2 separate regions of the Homo sapiens genome follow, and region 1 is linked to region 2. Evidence: promoter capture Hi-C in human tissues and cell types (Jung and others, 2019). All regions are on one chromosome and are shown on one strand. The core of a region is centred on a gene start or on the middle of the fragment in contact, and the rest is flanking DNA. Distances in the headings are between cores, read along the strand shown.

Region 1 (7,095 bases), core at 3,792-6,291, 820 kb after region 2:
TGGCTGGGCACAGTGACTCACGCCTGTAATCCAGCACATTGGGAGGATCGCTTGAGGCCAGGAGTTCAAGATCAGCCTGGGCAACATAGTGAGACACCACCCCCCCCCTCCCCCAGCATCTCTAAATAAATAAATAATAGAAATTAATTTTTTTTTTGTTTTGAGACAGTAGTCATCTCGCTCTGTCATCCAGGCTAGAGTGCAGTGGCGCAATCTTGGCTCACTGCACCTCTGCCTCCTGGGTTCAAGCAATCCTCCTGCCTCAGCCTCCAGAGTAGCAGGAATTATAGGTACCCACCACCACCACGCCTGGCTAATTTTTTTTTTTTTTTTTGAGACTGAGTTTCACTCTTATTGCCCAGGCTGGAGTGCAATGGCATGATCTTGGGTCACCGCAACTTCTGCCTCCCGGGTTCAAGTGATTCTCCTGCCTCAGCCTCCTGAGTAGCTGGGATTATAGGCATGCACCATCACGCACAGCTAGTATTCTTAGTAGAGACGGGGTTTCTCCATGTTGGTCAGGCAGGTCTCAAACTCCCATCCTCAGGTTATCTGCCTGCCTCGGCCTCCTAAAGTGCTGGGATCACAGGCGTGAGCCACCGCACCTGGCCAATTTGTGTATTTTTAGTAGAGGCGGGGTTTCACCATGTTGGCCAGGCTGGTCTCGAACTCCCAACCTCAAGTGATCCACCGTGGCCTACCCAAAGTGCTGGGATTACAGGCGTGAGCCACCGAGACCAGCCAAAATAAACAATAGAATTTTATTTCTCATGGTTCTGGAGTCTGCGAAGTCCAGGATCAAGGCGCTGGCAGATCCAGTGTCTGGTGAGGGCCCATTTCTCATAGGCGGTGGCTTCTAGCTGTGTCCTCATGTGGCAGAAGGGACAAACAAGTTCCCTTGAGCCTCCTTTTATAAGTCCAATAATCTCATTGGTGAGGACGTAGCCCTTCTGACTTAATTACTTCCCCAAATGCCTCACATCTTTTAACACTGTCAACGTTGAGGATTAAGCTTCAACATATCAATTTGGGGGACACAGACATTGAGACCATAGCTCACCCCTACCTCACCATGCCATGGGAGATACCTACCTGGTTGCCTCCTTTTATTTATTTATTTTTTTTCTTTTTGTGACTGGGTCTCACTCTGTTGCCCAGGCTGGAGTACAGCGGCAAATCATGTCTCACTGCAGCCTCGATGTCCCAGGTTCAAGCAATCCTCCCCACTAAGCCTCCCAAGTAGCTGGGACCCACAGGCATGAGCCATCACACCTGGCTAATGTTGGGTTTTTTGTGTTTTGTTTTTGCTTAGACTGAGTCTCGCTCGTCGCCCATGCTGCAGTGCAGTGGCATGATCCCGGCTCACTGAAGCCTCCACCCCAGGTTCAAGCAATTCTCCTGCCTCAGCCTCCCAAGTAGCTGGGATTCCAGGTTCCCACCACTGTGCATGGCTAATTTTTGTATTTTTAGTAGAGACTGGGTATCACCATGTTGGCCAGGCTGGTCTCGAAATCCTGGCCTCATGTGATCCACCCACCTCAACCTCCCAAAGTGCTAGGATTACAGGCGTGAGCCACTGCATCTGACCTGGCCACCACATTTTAAATGGAACCTCTTGGCTGGGCGCGGTGGCTCACATCTGTAATCCCAGCACTTTGGGAGGCTGAGGCAGGCGGATCACGAGGTCAGGAGATCGAGACCATCCTGGCTAACATGGTGAAACCCCGTCTCTACTAAAAATGCAAAAAAAAATTAGCCAGGTGTGGTGGCGGGTGCCTGTAGTCCCAGCTACTTGGGAGGCTGAGGCAAGAGAATGGCGTGAACCTGGGAGGTGGAGTTTGCAGTGAGCTGAGATCGTGCCACTGCACTCCAGCCTGGCCGACAGAGCAAGACTCTTGTCTCAAAAAAATATAGAATTAAACTAAATTAAAAAATAAATGGAACCGCCCAGCCCATCCCCTACCCACCTGTCCTGCATTTTTTTTCTCCTTATCACTGTCTCACCACTAGAGGCCAGCTCCACCAGGGCAAGGGTTTTTCCCTGCCTGCCACTGTATGCCGAGTGTCCAGAACAAAGCCTAGCACAAGGTGGGTATCCCAGAAATATTTGTGGGATGAGGCCGTGCGTGGTGGCTCACACCTGTAATCCCAGTGCTTTGGGAGGCTCAGGTGGGAGGATTGTTTGAGGCCATGAGTTGGAGACCAGCCTGGGCAACATAGTGAGACCCCATCTCTACAAAAAAAAATTTTTTTTTTTTTTTGAAACAGTCTCCCCCCTTTCGCCCTGGCTGGAGTGCAGTGACAACGATCTCAGCCCACCGCAACCTCCACCTCCCCGGTTGAAGTGATTTTCATGCCTCAGCCTCCCAAGTAGCTAGGACCATAGGCGCATGCCACCATGCCTGGCTAATTTTTATATTTTTAATAGAGACAGGATTTTGCCTTGATGGCCAAGCTGGTCTCAAACTACTGGCCTCAAGGGATCCACCCGCCTCAGCCTCCCAAAGTGCTGGGATTACAGACATGAACTACCAGGCCCAGTCTCTACAAAAATAAATGTTTTAATTAGCTGGGCGTGGTGGTGCACATCTGTAGTACTGGATACTTGGGAGGCTGACATGAGAGAATCGCTTGAGCCCAGGAGTTCGAGGCTGCAGTGAGCTATGATTGTGCCACTGCACTCCAGTCTGGGCGACAGAATGAAACTGTCTCAAAAAGAGTAAATGAGACCCCGAGAGTTGGAGCAGTGCCCCCTAGTACACAGAAGAGACAGGGCTTTGACACCCCCTATCTCTGGTGTTCTTGGCCCTCAACACAGGAAAAGAAAAAAGCCATCCAGGAGGAGGAGGAGAGAGACCAGGCCTTGCAGGCCAAGGCGAGCCTGACCATCCCGCTGGTGCCCGAGACGGAAGATGACCGCAAGCTGGCGGCTCTGCTGAAGTTCCACACCCTGGACTGTGCGTAGGAGGCCAGGGGGAAAAGGGGACAGGGAGGCTCAGAGTTGCCTGGAGATGGGGGGTCCTCAGCCATGAGTGGACTCTGGTCTACCAGAGGGCAGTTCTGGACCCCCTCCCCTGCCGCCCCTGAAATGTCCTCTCCTCTCCTCTAGCCTACGAGGACAAGCAGAAACTCAAGCGGACCGAGATCATCAGCCGCTCCTGGTTCCCCTCTGCCCCCGGATCCGCCTCCAGCAGCAAGGTCAGCGGCGTCCTGAAGAAGCTGGCACAGAGCCGCAGAACCGCGCTTGCCACCTCCCCCATCACCGTCGGGGACCTGGGCATCGTGCGGCGGAGGTCTCGGGACGTCCCGGAGAGCCCCCAGCATGCGGCCGACACCCCCAAGTCTGGGGAACCGCGGGTACCAGAGGAGGCTGCCCAGGACCGGCCCATGTCCCCCGGAGACTGTCCTCCGGAAACAACTGAGACCCCCAAGTGCAGCAGCCCGAGGGGGCAGGAAGGGAGCCGTCAGGACAAGCCCCTGTCGCCAGCAGGCTCCTCCCAGGAGGCAGCTGACACCCCCGACACGCGGCACCCCTGCAGTCTCGGCTCCTCCCTCGTGGCGGACTACTCCGACTCGGAGAGTGAGTGAGCGATCCCCATCCTGGAGACTGGACCCGCTCTAGAGGCCCGGACACACCCAGGAGGCCCCTCACAGACTGCAGACCCCCGGCTCGCCCACCAGCCCTGGGAGAGCTCAGATGCCGCATCCTCCCCAGACCGCGCCTTCCTGCAACCGTGGAGTTATTTATTTGGTCCTGGTGAGGGTGTTTGTGCCTTGTGAGACTCCGTACATTAAAGACCTGTCTCTTCTTCCCTGTCTTGGGTTGTTAGATGGACCCTGGGGCTGCCCCCCCACCCCCCCACCTTGACCAAGCTTGGTAGGCCTCTCATCAGCAAATGCTGGTATAGGGTCATAGCTGTGACCACAGACATGGTCCCCTTCCAGAGTAACAAGAGTCTCAAGGTGGTGGTCCCGGTTGGCCAGGAATCAGGACAGACTTCCTGGAGGAGGAGGCATGGGCCAAGTGTGAAGGGTGAAAAGGGGGCCAGGAACCACACACACAAGGCCAGGGACAAGGCACACGGGGTACCCAGGATGTGTGCCAGATGCAGCAGGGGCTGGAGCACACAGGTGTGAGCTTTTTATTATACCCAGCCCAGGGGTGGCCCATGGAAAAGCCCCCCGTGCATGTTACTTTTGGGGTTTTTTTGTTTTGTTTTTGAGACCGAGTCTTGCTCTGTCACCCAGGCTGGAGTGCAGTGGCGCGATCTCGGCTCACTGCAACCTCTGCCTCCTGGGTTCAAGTGATTCTTCTGCCTCAGCCTCCCGAGCAGCTGGGACTACGGGTGTGCGCCACCACGCCCAGCTAATTTTTTGTATTTTTAGTAGAGACTGGGTTTCACCATGTTGGCCAGGCTGGTCTCGAACTCCTGACCTCAAGTGATCTGCCCGACTCGGCCTCCCAAAATGCTGGGATTCCAGGCGTGAGCCACAGCGCCTGTCCTGCATGTTACTTTTGAATGAAACCGAGCAGAAAATGGCCCAGAAACAGCCTTGCATCCATCAAGGGGCACACGACCCCCCACTACCTCCCCCTCAACCTTGGAAGATCATTTAACAAATTCTTTGGTTTGAACACTTGATGTTACCTTGCCACTGGGGATACATCCCTAACTCTAGACAGCAGGTTGTTAAACACGGGGCCTGGTATCCACTAGGCGTCCCATAAATGCTGCCACTTTTGTGGTTCCGAGGAGGCGGCTCACTCCGTTCGGGCTTGGCAGGAGTCGTGGAGTGGGTTCGGCCACGTGGAATCCGCGTCCTGGGAACCCGTGGAATCCGCGTCCTGGGAACCCGTGGAATCCGCCTCCTGGGAACCCGTGGAATCCGCCTCCTGGGAACCCGTGGAATCCGCCTCCTGGGAACCCGTGGAATCCGCCTCCTGGGAACCCGTGGAATCCGCCTCCTGGGAACCCGTGGAATCGGGTTGGATGCGCATGTGCGTGTCTCTTTTTCCGGGGGAGGCTCCGCCCACGGCCCCGCCCCGCTCCCAAGTGCGCGCGGACCCCTAGCTCCCTCTGAGTTGCGCTGGGCTTGGCTGCTGCACCATGACCCTGGAGGCGATCCGCTACTCGCGGGGCTCCCTGCAGATCCTAGACCAGCTGCTGCTGCCCAAGCAGAGCCGCTACGAGGCGGTGGGCTCGGTGCACCAGGCCTGGGAGGCCATCCGCGCCATGAAGGTGCAGCGGGGCGGCGGGGCGGCGGGGCGGCGGGGCGGCGGGGCGGCGGGGCGGCGGGGCGGCGGGGCGGCGGGGCGGCGGGGCGGCCGGGTTGGAGGTGGGAGTGCGCCCGCGCCTGCAGCTTCCGACGCCCAAATCCCTGCCCCGCAGGTGCGGGGCGCCCCGGCCATAGCCCTGGTGGGCTGTCTCAGCCTCGCCGTGGAGCTGCAGGCGGGCGCCGGGGGACCGGGACTCGCCGCGCTCGTGGCCTTCGTGCGCGACAAGCTGAGCTTCCTCGTCACCGCCCGGCCCACCGCTGTCAACATGGCCCGCGCCGCCCGCGACCTGGCTGATGTTGCAGCCCGGGAGGCCGAACGGGAGGGCGCTACGGAAGAGGCGGTCCGGGAGAGGTACGGGGATCTGGTACCAGGCACGGCGCTGAGCAGGAATTATATTGACTCTTTTTAAGTACAGTGACCCACTATACAGATGGGGAAACTGAGGCACGGCGACCTTAAGTCCCTTGTCCAGGGCCCCACAGATGGGGAGACTGAGGCACGGCGACCTTAAGTCCCTTGTCCAGGGCCCCACAGATGGGGCCCAGAGTCTAGCCTGGGCAGCCTGGCCCTGAAACCTAACTCCTTAATCGTGCCTCCCCTGAATACACGCAGCCCCTTATCCGCCCTTGGAGGCCCTTTTTAGTATCTCCGTGTTCTCTTGGTTTCTGCTTTTGAGGAACTTTTTTTCCTGTCCTGGTCCCCTTCCTGCCATCTTTTTCCCCCCACTTCCTTTCTGCTCCAGCCCTCCCTGCAATGTCACTTTACCCCACCAAGCTCGAGCCTGCCTTACAGCCTTTGCACGTGCCATTGGTGCGGGCCAGGTATCCATAGCGCCCTCCTCCACCATTCTATATGATCCAGCTCACCCGCTGCTCTCTGTTGCCTGATTCTGCCGGCTTTTCCTTCATTTTATTATCTCTTCATCAGCTGGCTCACTCACCCCAGTGTCAACTCCACAGGAGCAGAGATTTTTGTCTTGTTTACTGCTGGGTCATACCGGAACTGCTTGGTAAACATGTCTTTGCATGAATGAACGGAGTGACACTTCGGTGGCCCTGGCCGAAGGGTCCAGGCCCCACAGCAATGAGAGGCTTTGAGCAGGAGGGCTCCAGGACAGCAGCGTTAGGCAGAGAGGAGGCGTTGGCCTGGGCCCCGGGTCCTGGTGGCTGGTGCTGAAAACTCCTTGTCACCCCAGAGTGATCTGCTGCACCGAGGACATGCTGGAGAAAGACCTCAGAGACAACCGAAGCATTGGGGACCTAGGAGCCCGCCACCTCCTGGAGCGGGTGGCCCCCAGCGGTGGCAAGGTGACTGTGCTGACCCACTGTAACACTGGTGCTCTGGCCACCGCTGGCTATGGTACAGCCCTAGGTGAGAGGGCCTCCTCAGGGGGTAGGGGAGGGCCTTCTAGGAACTTTTTTAGATACAAGAGAAAGAATCCCAAACCCAAACCACTTTATCCACAAAAAAAATGGGAAGGTACTAGTTCTAGTACGGAAACACTTATACAGTTGGCTTCAGGTATGGCAAGATCAAGGGGCTCAACCAGTAGCATCAGGACCTATCTATCTCTGTGCTTCAGCTCTGCCCTCCTTCATCTTCAGGTTCCATGGGCTGGCAGGCGGCTGTTAGGGTCCAAATCATGAGGAAAAGAGCCTCCTATACTAGAAAAGTCTCCTTGTATCTCAGGGGGTCCACTAGGGCACCTGCCCATCCCAGAGCAGTCATTCGATGGGCCCCGCCTGAGCCATATGCCTAGAGCCAGGGCAGGACGTGGACTCCAGGAGGAACTGGGGAGAAGGGAGTGAGCAGAGAAA
Region 2 (6,838 bases), core at 3,328-5,827:
TATCTCTACAAAAAAAATTTTTTTTTTTGAGACAGAGTTTCACTCTTGTTGCTGAGGCTGGAGTGCAATGGCACGATCTCAGCTCACTGCGCCCTCCGTCTCCTGGTTTCAAGCGATTCTCCTGCCTCAGCCTCCGGAGTAGCTGGGATTACAGGCATGTGCTACTATGGATGCCAGGCTAATTTTTTTTTTTTTTTTTTTTTTTGAGACCGTGCCTTGCTCTGTCGCCCAGGCTGGAGTGCAGTGGTGTGATCTCTGCTCACTGCAAGCTCCGCACGACCCCCCAGGTTCACTCCATTCTTCTGCCTCAGGGTCCCGAGTAACTGGGACTACAGGCACCCCCCACCATGCCTGGCTAATTTTTTTGTATTTTTTTTTTTAGTACAGACATGGTTTCACCGTGTTAGCCAGGATGGTCTCCATCTCCTGACCTCATGAACCACCCACCTTGGCCTCCCAAAGTGCTGGGATTACAGGCGTGAGCCACCTCACCCAGCCTTTTTGTAGAGACAGGGCTTCATGTTGCCCAGGTTGGTCTCGAACTCCTGGCCTCAGGTCATCTGCCCGCCTCGGCCTCCCAAAGTGCTGGGATTACAAGGGTTAGCCACCATGCCTAGCCTCTACAAAAACTTTAAAAATTGGCGAGATGTCATGCATACCTGTAGTCCCAACTACCAAGGAAGAAGGATGATCACTTGAGCCTGGGGCATCGAGGCTGCAGTGAGCCATGATTATGTCACTGCACTCCAGCCTCGGTGACAGAGTGAGACCCTCTCAAAAAAAGTTGGGACTTGGCCGGACACAGTGGCTCACACCTGTAATCCCAGCACTTTGGGAGGCCAAGGCGGGTGGATCACAAGGTCAGGAGATGGAGACCATCCTGGCTAACATGGTGAATGAAACCCCATCTCTAGTAAAAATACAAAAAATTTGCCAGGTGTGGTGGTGGGCGCCTGTAGTCCCAGCTACTCGGGAGGCTGAGGCAAAAGGATGACGTGAACCCGGGAGGCGGAGCTTGCAGTGAGCTGAGATCATGCCATTGCACTCCAGCCTGGGTGATAGCGAGACTCTGTCCCAAAAAAAAAAAAAAATGCTGGGACTGAATTTTTGTCTGTTTTGGTCACTGAAATACCTTCTGTGCCCAAGACAGTTCTGGCATGTAGTAGGTACCTGAAAAATACCTGAATAAGAGAGTGAGAAACAAGAAACAGGTGCAGAGAACTGAAGTCAGTGGCCCAAGGTCATGGGGGTAGGAAACCACAAAGCTGGGGTTTGAACCTGGGCAGTACAGCACCTGAGTCTCTCCATCTTTTTTTTTTTTTTTTTTTAAGACAGAGTCTTGCTCTGTCACCCAGGTTGGAGTGCAGTGGCTTGATCTCGGCTCACTGCAGCCTCTGCCTTCCAGGTTCAAGTGATTCTCATGCCTCATCCTCTCGAGCAGCTGGAATTACAGGCATGCGCCACGACGCTGGGCTTTTTTTTTTTTGAGATGGAATTTCACTCTTGTTGCCCAGGCTGGAGTGCAATGATGCAATCTCGGCGGCTCACCACAACCTCTGCATCCCAGATTCAAGCGATTCTCCTGCCTCGGCCTCCTGAGTAGCTGGGATTACAGGGATGCGCCATCACAGACCCCGGGCTAATTTTTTTTAGTAGAGACAGAGTTTCACTATGTTGCCCAGGTTGGTCTCGAACTCCTGGCCTCAAGTGATCCGTTCGCCATGACCTCCCAAAGTGCTGGGATTACAGGCATGAGCCCGTCCCGTCCCTGGCTGTCTCTCCATCTTTCCATCTTTTTTTTTTTTTTTTTTTTTTTTGGAGATGGAGTCTCACTCTGTCACCCAGGCTGGAGTGCAGTGGCACGATCTTGGCTCACTGCAAGCTCCGCCTCCTGGGTTCACATCATTCTCCTGTCTCAGCCTCCCAAATAGCTGGGACTACAGGCACTTGCCACCACGCCTGGCTGATTTTTTGTATTTTTAGTAGAGACGGGGTTTCACCGTGTTAGCCAGGGTGGTCTCGATCTCCTGACCTCGTGATCCGCCCACCTTGGCCTCTGGGCGAGGATTACAGGCGTGATCCACCTCACCTGGCCTCTCCATCTTTTTAACTGCAGTGTCAGCGGTGTTCCTTGTCTTCTCTGCAGATGCAGGCAGCAGAATATAGTGGTTATAGGAACACAGGTGGAAACCCTGTCCAAAGCAAGGGCTATCGGGTATCACCTCTGACCATCCTTCCCATTCATCCTCCAGGTCAAGTCTGGCACCATCTTTGACAACTTCCTCATCACCAACGATGAGGCATACGCTGAGGAGTTTGGCAACGAGACGTGGGGCGTAACAAAGGTGAGGCCTGGTCCTGGTCCTGATGTCGGGGGCGGGCAGGGCTGGCAGGGGGCAAGGCCCTGAGGTGTGTGCTCTGCCTGCAGGCAGCAGAGAAACAAATGAAGGACAAACAGGACGAGGAGCAGAGGCTTAAGGAGGAGGAAGAAGACAAGAAACGCAAAGAGGAGGAGGAGGCAGAGGACAAGGAGGATGATGAGGACAAAGATGAGGATGAGGAGGATGAGGAGGACAAGGAGGAAGATGAGGAGGAAGATGTCCCCGGCCAGGCCAAGGACGAGCTGTAGAGAGGCCTGCCTCCAGGGCTGGACTGAGGCCTGAGCGCTCCTGCCGCAGAGCTGGCCGCGCCAAATAATGTCTCTGTGAGACTCGAGAACTTTCATTTTTTTCCAGGCTGGTTCGGATTTGGGGTGGATTTTGGTTTTGTTCCCCTCCTCCACTCTCCCCCACCCCCTCCCCGCCCTTTTTTTTTTTTTTTTTTAAACTGGTATTTTATCTTTGATTCTCCTTCAGCCCTCACCCCTGGTTCTCATCTTTCTTGATCAACATCTTTTCTTGCCTCTGTCCCCTTCTCTCATCTCTTAGCTCCCCTCCAACCTGGGGGGCAGTGGTGTGGAGAAGCCACAGGCCTGAGATTTCATCTGCTCTCCTTCCTGGAGCCCAGAGGAGGGCAGCAGAAGGGGGTGGTGTCTCCAACCCCCCAGCACTGAGGAAGAACGGGGCTCTTCTCATTTCACCCCTCCCTTTCTCCCCTGCCCCCAGGACTGGGCCACTTCTGGGTGGGGCAGTGGGTCCCAGATTGGCTCACACTGAGAATGTAAGAACTACAAACAAAATTTCTATTAAATTAAATTTTGTGTCTCCCTCCTGTGTCTCCTTCTGGGGAAAGACAGACTTAAGGAAACCCAGCAGTGGTCTTTTTGGGGGGGGGGGGGGTTTCCAGTATATCTCCTTTTTCAGCTATTGCTAGAGAGGTTGCTGAGTGTTCCACAAGATTCCAGGGACCCTTATTTACCCCATAACCCTCAAAACCAACGGGGGAATGGCTGTTGCTGCTGTAAATACTCCACATACTAACTTACTGAATCCTTGAACCTAACTGGTAAGTTTTGGTTCTGCTTATTTATTTATTTTTAAGATAGACTCTCGCTCTGTTGTCCAGGCTGGCGTACAGTGGCTCAATCTGGTTCACCCTGCCCCTTAAACTGGCCTTTTTCATGCTTCTATTCCTTTGGGGTCCTGTGGCTCAGCCCAACCCCTCTGGGATGCCTCCAGGACTGGTAGATCCAAGGGAGAATTCTGTATTTAATGTAGTGAGGCTTTGAAAGTTAACATCTTTAAATACTTCTGGGGTCAGATTAGGTATAGTACAACAAAGTACTCCTGCCCGGAGACCCAAGAATGAAAATTGTAGGTTCATTCCAAAACTCCAGATCCCTAAAGAATGAATGAGGCTACAAAATGGCACCTTGCCCCCGCTTCCAACTTAAGGTTTTTTTTCTGTGCTTGGTGGCCTTTCAGGTATTTCTAGTTTTGAGTAACTTTCACTTTGACTGCTCTACAAGGGTTCCTGCCAGGATACCCAGACCAGAATAAAACTCATTTGGGGGCCGGGTACGGTGGTTCACGCCTGTAATCCCAGCACTTTGGGAGGCCGAGGCGGGTGGATCACCTGAGGTCAGGAGTTTTGAGACCAGCCTGGCCAACACGGTGAAACCCAATACAAAAAATTATCCGGGCGTGGTGGGGGGTGCCTGTAATCCCAGTTACTCGGGAGGCTGAGGCAGGAGAATTGCATGAACCCGGAAGGCGGAAGCTGCAGTGAGCCGAGATCGCGCCACTGCACTCCAGCCTGGGTGACAGAGACTGTTTGAAAGAAAAAATTCTCATTTGGAAGAGGCAAAATGAGGTTTTTACAGAAGAAATACAAATGTCTGTAACCAGTACAGGTACATAAAAACTTTGTTAAAAATTCATTTGAGCGTGAGAGTGGGGACACCAGAGTCACTTTGCAGCCCCGTGACGTCACCGATAACGGGCATGGCGTCACTCAGGAGACCACGTGTGCGGGCCGAGCAAGAAGCCCCGCCCACAGCGCGGAGTTTAGTCTGCGCGTGCCTCGCTCGAGAACGCGCTCGTGCGCATGCCCACAAAGGCCAAGGAGGGAGTGCGCAGGTCACGTGCGCCGGTGGTCAGCGCGCGCATTGCCTGCCCCGGAAGTGGTCGGCGCGCGGCGCGGCGCGCCTGGGCGCTAAGATGGCGGCGGCGTGAGTTGCATGTTGTGTGAGGATCCCGGGGCCGCCGCGTCGCTCGGGCCCCGCCATGGCCGTCACCATCACGCTCAAAACGCTGCAGCAGCAGACCTTCAAGATCCGCATGGAGCCTGACGAGACGGTGCGGGCCGGGCCGGAGCCCGGGGGCGGGAGCGACGGGTTTCGGGGGTGGGGTGGGGGCGGGGAGGCTAGAATCCCAACGGGAGGGGCAGGGAGGACGGCGCGGGTCGGCCCTGCCCAGACCCCCGACCTGCCCGACTTTCCTGGACCCCCCGATGGTCTTTGGCCCAGCCCCCAGCCGATCGGGCGGCGCTCCTGCGCCGGTCTCCGGGCGAGGCCCCACCCCCGGGGCGCTGGCCAGGCCCCGGCTCCAATGTCAGCGCTCTCGCGGGGCGCGGGAGTCACAAGCTCGGATTCCTGGGCAGGCCAAGCTCTCCAAGACTGGGCTCCACGTTCCCAGCTTTGCAGGCGTCTCCTTGGGACACTGGTGGTCGAATCTAGGAGTAATGACCAGGAGATACTGAGTAGTGACGACAACAACGATGTTAATGATAATAAACGGGTCTCAGTCTTTATAATTTTGGTGGTCCGTGTTTGTTGGCCGTTTACTTTTTATCAGTCACCGAGTGTTGTAGTGTTGTTTTACCGCTCTGCAAAACGGGCTTGTCATTGGGGACCTCTGATCATTTTACAGATGTGGAAACCTAGGGATTGAGGAACTTTGCCACAGTCACACACAAGTAATGGCAGAGCTGGGATTCAAATTCGGTTCTGCCTCGTGTGAGCGTCCACGATATAAATATTATGCTGCCTTTTTAGTCAAAAGTAGAATTAGGACCTAATTCAAACATACTGAATGTCTATTGGGTACTTGGCGCTTTTTGCATAGTGAGGGAGACATTGAAGTCCACTTTTTGTAGAAAAGGAAACACACATTTTTTGATCCGCTCAAGTGTTTGGCTTTGGGCAAGTTAACCTGCCTACCTGTCTGTGCCTCCGTTTTCTCAAATATCAAATGAACCGGTCGCCTGCTGGCTTCCGCCTGTAATCCCAGCACTTAGGGAGGCAGAGGGAAGAGGAGCCCTTGAGCCTAGGAATTCGAGATCATCCTGGCAACACAGTGAGACCCCGTTCTCTACAAAAAAAAGAAACAAAAATCAATAAATAAAATGAGACCAATTAAACGTATTTCATAGGAAACTTAAAAGGTATGACACATATACATTTACAGTAGCACTATTGGCCAGGCACGGTGGCTCATGCCTCTAATCCTGATGATTTGGGAGGCAGAGGCAGGAGGATTGCTTGAGGCCAGGAGTTTGAGACCAGCCAGTCTAACATAGGGAGACTCTTATCTACAAAAAAAAATTATTTTTAATTAGTCTGGAGTGGTGGTGTGTACCTTTAGTCCTAGCTACTCCCAAGGCTGGACAAGAGTACCAGTTGAGCCCAGGAGTTTGAGGCTGCAGTCAGCGATGATCGTGCCACATCAATCCAGCATGGGCGGCAGCGAGATCCTGCCTCTTAAAATTAAAAAATATCACTATTAACTATTAGTCACTTATTGTCCAAGGTAGAGTGTAGAGTGGGGGACTGTCCCCTTTATTCTGTTAATTATACTTTATACTACCCGAAATTACATTTTCTTCACATTAGTGTTCTCTCATTGAGAGCAGGGACTTACTTGTGTTGAGTTTGTTCTGTGCTGTGGCCTCTGTGTCTAAAACAGCACCTGGCACATAATGGGTGTTTAGTATAAGTAAATACTGTGTTGAATGGCATGATGATTGAATGAATTCAAATCTAGCATGCTTTAGATGCTGAGAAAGCTTAAAAAACCCAGCGTGCTTGCCTTTCTGCCATCAGGGCTGGCAGTTTCTCTGTCCTAAACTAGAAGGGAAAAGAGAATCTTGGGGTCTCCAGTGACTGTCTGTACCACTCCCTCTAGGTGAAGGTGCTAAAGGAGAAGATAGAAGCTGAGAAGGGTCGTGATGCCTTCCCCGTGGCTGGACAGAAACTCATCTATGCCGGCAAGATCTTGAGTGACGATGTCCCTATCAGGGACTATCGCATCGATGAGAAGAACTTTGTGGTCGTCATGGTGACCAAGGTGGGTGACGTGTGCTGGCTGGGAGGGTGGGTGGACGAGCTGGGGAGCTGGCAAAGAGCCTGTGTGCCCAGGAGAGATTAGCTGTGAACAGGGCGGGGCCACAGCGGAGCGGG

The links. Contacts are between HindIII fragments. The study calls those that stand out against the background at their distance.
Region 1: the fragment with the promoter of MRI1 here is called in contact with the fragment with the promoter of RAD23A in region 2 in 1 of the 25 tissues and cell types used here (spleen).

What each region holds. Positions count from the first base shown.
Region 1 is chr19:13,759,481-13,766,575 of GRCh38, forward strand. MRI1 (methylthioribose-1-phosphate isomerase 1) reads left to right here and starts at 5,042. Exons shown (of 6, transcript NM_001031727.4): 1 at 5,042-5,240; 2 at 5,391-5,629; 3 at 6,474-6,649. The coding sequence starts at 5,109. YJU2B (YJU2 splicing factor homolog B) reads left to right here. Exons shown (of 10, transcript NM_030818.4): 9 at 2,819-2,957; 10 at 3,110-3,809. The coding sequence ends at 3,588. RefSeq lists enhancers at 3,253-3,769, 6,239-6,868 and a silencer at 5,412-5,461. The HindIII fragment of the contact is 13,832 bases long and covers 2,443-7,095 here.
Region 2 is chr19:12,941,285-12,948,122 of GRCh38, forward strand. It overlaps RAD23A (RAD23 nucleotide excision repair protein A), which reads left to right and starts at 4,578. Exons shown (of 9, transcript NM_005053.4): 1 at 4,578-4,736; 2 at 6,564-6,725. The coding sequence starts at 4,665. It overlaps CALR (calreticulin), which reads left to right. Exons shown (of 9, transcript NM_004343.4): 8 at 2,253-2,345; 9 at 2,429-3,205. The coding sequence ends at 2,629. RefSeq lists enhancers at 4,356-5,048, 4,460-4,679, 5,995-6,838 and silencers at 4,740-4,819, 4,830-5,019, 5,040-5,099, 5,071-5,365. The HindIII fragment of the contact is 31,996 bases long and covers 1-6,838 here.